Linked DNA regions of Homo sapiens: region 1 is linked to region 2. Evidence: promoter capture Hi-C in human tissues and cell types (Jung and others, 2019). All regions are on one chromosome and are shown on one strand. The core of a region is centred on a gene start or on the middle of the fragment in contact, and the rest is flanking DNA. Distances in the headings are between cores, read along the strand shown.

Region 1 (2,700 bases), core at 8-2,507, 36 kb after region 2:
CCTCCTAAAGTGCTAGGATTACAGGCGTGAGCCACTGCGCCTAAGCCAGGATGGTGGGTACCAAGCAGGGAGGGAGACACTGACTGGCAAGGGCATTGGGGAACTTTCTAGGGGCCCTGGGAGTGTTCTATATCTTTACCTGGGTCTTGGTTACATGGTTGTATACATGATGTAAAAACTCATTGAGATGTACACTGAAGAGGTGTGCACTTTACTCCACGTAAATTCTTCCTCAGTGAGAACACATATACAATTAGAAAGTAAAAATAAAGGCCAGGTGCGGTGGCTCATGCCTGTAGTCCCAGCATTTTGGGAGACTGAGGTGAGCAGATTGAGTCGAGGAGTCTGAGACCAACCTGGGCAACATGGCAAAACCCCATCGGTACAAAAAAATTAGGGTATGGTGGCGGGGCATCTGTAGTTCAAGCTACTCGGGAAACTGAGGTGGGAGAATCGCTTGAGCTGGGAGGCGGAAGTTGCAGTGAGCCAAGATTGCGCCACTGCACTCCAGCCTGGGCAACAGAGCAGGACCCTGTCTCAAAAAAATAAATAAAAATAAAAATATAACCTCAATTAACCAATACTAACTGGAGATCATCTGGCCCCATGCCCTTTTCCAGCCTACATCCTAATCTAGTCTATTGGCATCAGGTGTTTTCATGGTCCAGCCTGCCAGCCTGCTGGCAGCCTGGTGGCTAGCTTCAGGGTACCACATACCAAGCTTTATCATCCCATTTTACAGAAGAGAAAACAGGCTCAGAGAGGTGAGGTAACATACCCAAGGACATATAACTGGTCTTAACACAGGCCACTGACTCCAGAGGGCAATTTCTTAACCCCCTACCCTATGCCTTGCCCCACGAGGAACCCATAAATATTTGTTGAATGAATGAATGACCAATGTAATAAAAGCCATATCCTTACCTCTTTGGCTTCATTTTGTGCTTTCATATTTTCAGCAATATACTTGACACTTTGGATGGCTTCTTTGATTTCTGGTGACAAAGCAGAGAGGGACAGCACAGCATCAACAGATTCAGAACTAGAGCTTCTCGTGAGGTTAGCACTGAAATTGGAGATTTTTATCCTGCGGTGGTGGCAGTAACCACACATCCCGTCCTGGCAGGGGTAGCCCTCCTTGCAGCCTTTGGACTCTGCGCGGCTGAAGCAATTCAGATTTGAGAGCTCGGCACCGTAGAGGGGCCTCGGCTTCTGAGCGTTGCCCTCGTTGCTTGTTGGCCTGGTCATGAACATGACCCTGGGGAGCAGGTTCAAGAATACAGTCTTCACCCATGAGGGCATTGTGTGTGTCGTCGGGGTTCTGTAGTGCACGTTGAGCACGAAGACGGTGATGACGATGGACAAGGTTACAAAAATCATGGTGAACAGGAGGTACTCTCCAATCAGGGGGATGACCAGCGAGGTGGAAGGGATGGTCTCAGTGATCACCAGGAGAAACACCGTCAGGGAGAGGAGGACAGAAATGCACAGGGTCACCTTCTCACCGCAGTCGGAGGGCAGGTAGAAGACGAGCACAGTGAGGAAGGAGATGAGCAGGCAGGGGATGATGAGGTTGATGGTGTAGAACAAGGGCAGGCGCCGGATGTACAGCGAGTATGTGATGTCGGGGTAGATCTCCTCGCAGCAGTTGTACTTGATGTCGTGTTTGTAGCCTGGGGCTTTGATGATGGCCCACTCGCCGCTCTCCCAATAGTCCTTGAGGTTCATGGAAGAGCCGATCAGGACCAGATCGATTTTCGCCTTATCGTAGGACCAGGAACCGAACTTCATGGTACAGTTTTGGTAATCAAACGGGAAGTAGGTCACGTCGATTTTACAGGAGCTCTTAAAGATGGCCGGAGGTATCCAAGTCACCTCCCCAGTGTACTTGAGTAAGGCTTTGGTCTTGTCGTCCACCTGGAAATCCCCAACAGCACTGCAAAGACAAAGAGGGGGCACAGTGACACACGGTCATTAACACTTGGTCATATTGTGGTCATCTCAACCAGCTTCTCACAGTAAGTAATGATTTGGAAGGCACTGGAAGATGAGAGCTAAAGTGCCATAAAAGGTCACCCATTTCCTGGCCCCATTTACCAACAGGGATACTGAGGCCCAAGCTCCCTCCCCAACAACAATCTGAGATATGGATCACTCCCTGCCCCAGGGCAGGCCACCAGTTCATCCCACAATACAGGTCCCAAACTGATAGACTCCCAAATGCCCGAAGAGGATTGGTCCCCCTTTAATTAAAGAAATGGGAGGAAGGTCATCCTCCTGGAGCCAGGTGCTGAAGCAGCCTTTGGGATTATTTGCCACCCAGGGTCCCTGAGGCTTGGCCCTCTCCTCATTCAGTCTGTACCGGGCGCCTAATGTGTGTGTGAAACCAGACTATGGATGTGGAAGGGGCTGCACAGACCACCCAGGGGAGTCCACCCCCATTAAACGGAACCTTGTCAGATGGATTTACTTCCAAACCCTATCTCTGGATCCTGATTTGACCATTCCCTGTACCCTCCCCACCCCCATTCTTCCCAGTACTGTTTTACAATAATCATGTTTTGCTTCCTTGTCTTTCGAATTCAGCCTAACAGGTTTCTTCACTTTCTGTGTCCCTATCCCCATTTTCTCCCCATGTTTCTTCTCCCTTCCTTTTCACTATGTGCATCCTGACATTTATTTTCACACAGAAATAGACAT
Region 2 (2,759 bases), core at 140-2,639:
TAAGTCCCATAAATTCTTCAGAGTAAAATGTAAATTTGCAGTGAAAGGATGATAGGTACTGTCTTTCATTTCTGTGCAGAAGTGCAATTAATTACTAATCTGGTTAACATCTTGTGCATCCCTTTTCTGTGGCCCCTTTGTTTAAGTCCTGTTTAAACAGATTGGCTCCATTGGATGTAATTTACATTTTTCCAGCTGTATTTGGACCTAAGAAGAGCATCTTCACTGAATTTTGCTGTTTAGATTCTTTGCAACCAGGTTTAGTTTTTCACAGATTTACTAGTCTGGAGGGTGGAGTGAAATTTTTGCTCACAATGAGTCTTAGAGGTGTCACCTCCATAAAGCGTTCTGTGAAGAGTCAGCGGCTCCCTCTGCCACTGAAGTTTAAAGATAATTCGCCTGAATCCCTTCAGCCAAATGAAGCTTTCTAATTATGGACAGAGAGGATGAAATATAGGGTCTGGAGGGATTTGAGACGGGTTTCCAGCAGTCGGCACCAATCTCCACCAGAGGTGCTAAGTGTCTGTAGCAGATAGTCACTAATATTTACAAATGTTAATTGATGACAACACGGAGGGCGATGCCCACGTTTGAGGCGACTGCATATCATTTCCGGGGATGGCTTGAGTGAGTGTCAGAGCTGTACCTTCCCGAGTCCTCTAGTTTATCTGCCTCGGTTCCTCGCTTCCAGACGAGGAAACAGGCCCAGAGAGGAAAGTGACTTGCCCAGGGTTGTCTCGCTGGTCCACAACACAGGTCTCCTGGTGGGGACCCCTTGGCTGACACGACAGCCCCAGGAGGCAGTCAAGCTGCGACTGGTACTTCCTGGTGAGAAAGACTTGAGTGGGCAGCGGGGCCCATGGAGAGCGCTGCAGCCTGGAGCAAGTCCCCCACCACTGTGATTCTGCCCCAGCCTCCAGCTTGTTTCTTTCTGATCACAACTCGGAATTACTTTATTTACATTTTCTATCAGCTGGGAGCAATCTGTCCCTCTGCTTCCCCTTTTGGTGCTGAGCACAGAGCAGACATCAATGAATAGCTGTTATCTTAAGGTGTGCAGTGACTAGGCCAAGGACATCCGGTGGTTAGAGAAGGACGCGCCTGCGATGCCAGCCTCAAGTCTTTGCCTTCCTGGAACTCTGCTCCAGGGTCGCACCTGCCCAAAGGAAGGCCTGGAGGCGGGGGCCAGGGCGATGGGGCTGGGCCAGGCGTGGAAAAAGAGGAGCTAGGAGCAGACAGGGTTGGACCAGAGGCGGGGCGGGGTGGGGAAAGGGTTGGTGGGGATCGGAGGCGGGGCTATGAATAGACCGGACTGGGCCAAAAGGAACAAGGCGAGGATTGGGCGGGGCCAGAGGGAAATAGGGGCGGGGCTAGGCGCCGGGAGCTTCCACATGCGTCCCGAGCCCGCCAGAAGCTGCTAGGCTGAGGCTGCTGTCCCGGCGGGAGCTGTGGCGCGGAGCGGCCCCTCTGCTGCGTCTGCCCTCGTTTTGTCTCACGACTCACACTCAGTGCTCCATTCCCCAAGAGTTCGCGTTCCCCGCGCGGCGGTCGAGAGGCGGCTGCCCGCGGTCCCGCGCGGGCGCGGGGCGATGGCGGCGCGGGGGTCAGGGCCCCGCGCGCTCCGCCTGCTGCTCTTGGTCCAGCTGGTCGCGGGGCGCTGCGGTCTAGCGGGCGCGGCGGGCGGCGCGCAGAGAGGTAAGCCCGGGCTGCAGAGGGGCGGGGCGGGAGCTGGCCCGGACTCCACATCGCGGTGCCCAGGAAGCCGCCAGGCGACGGCCGCCGGAAAACCTGGTTGCGAGGGGAGGTGGGTTTTTTTCTCCTGGGGGCTTGGAGTGAGGTTTCAGTTTAAATGTCCAGATTTGCTCATTTAAATGCAGAGAAAGGGCTACTTGGGTGGGTTTTCTTTGTTGTTCCACGACCTGCATCGCTGGAGACTACGAGGCTGGCTTAGCGTATACTTCCACACAACTTTTTCAGTAAAAGATGCCACTCTTGTCCAGCAGGGCTTTCCTGTCCTGGTGGCAGCCAAGCTTCCCATTTTGTTGCCCATTTACGGGATATAGAGACTCTGGGGTTCATTCTAGGGGTTGGGACTTATCTTCCACCTCCTGCCCGCCGCCTCTTCCTCCATCCCTGTCCCCTACCCACCGCAGCATTTGAAAACCTTTCCTTTCGCCGGAGATGAAAGGTGTGTGTTGTAGCAGGCTAGGCGGCCAACTTCCCTGGCTTCGGGGCTAATCGTTTGCATCCAGAGTTCCTCACTAGCTCCTTAGAGCACAGCTTTTTTCAGCCTGCTGTTTTTCAAGAGGTTTTGGACAGGAATGGAAACAACAAAAGAAATCGCGTAGTCCTACATGTTTCAAGTGCTTGGGAAAGTTTTAGAGTCAGTTCTCTCAATACCTTGAAGAAAAACACGTTTGTGGAGCAGCTATGGTGTGATCTAAACGTAGAAAAGCTAAGCATCCGTTAAGCAAGATATGATTACAGAAGTTCACTACGTCTGTATTTCAGGTTTTATGAGTGAGTTTCTTAAATAGTGGAAATATTGCAAGAACCTTTTCTTGCCTTTCCTTTGTTAAGGTTTTTAATCTATGGCTCCTGATTTTAGGAAGTAATAAGACTAGAATAATTCATTGCAGGATGTATTGCTTAGTGTAGACCGAAGAGAAATAAGATGGAGGGTGATTTAAACAAATGAAGAAAATCCTGGGCAGAGAGAGTTAAACAGAAAGAAAGGAATGTGATTTTGGAGCCAGGCA

Evidence for each region. The method cuts DNA at HindIII sites, captures the fragments that hold promoters and counts their contacts. A contact is called where the count stands out against the background at its distance.
Region 1: a contact is called between a fragment that was not itself captured here and the fragment with the promoter of CHRNA5 in region 2, in 1 of the 25 tissues and cell types used here (liver).

What each region holds. Positions count from the first base shown.
Region 1 is chr15:78,600,329-78,603,028 of GRCh38, forward strand. It overlaps CHRNA3 (cholinergic receptor nicotinic alpha 3 subunit), which reads right to left. Exons shown (of 6, transcript NM_000743.5): 5 at 925-1,936. Among named protein-coding and RNA genes, the nearest start is that of CHRNA3, 19 kb to the right of the region's middle. The HindIII fragment of the contact is 3,886 bases long and covers 1-2,700 here.
Region 2 is chr15:78,564,131-78,566,889 of GRCh38, forward strand. It overlaps CHRNA5 (cholinergic receptor nicotinic alpha 5 subunit), which reads left to right and starts at 1,390. Exons shown (of 6, transcript NM_000745.4): 1 at 1,390-1,695. The coding sequence starts at 1,590. RefSeq lists an enhancer at 588-777 and a silencer at 1,588-1,677. The HindIII fragment of the contact is 8,456 bases long and covers 1-2,759 here.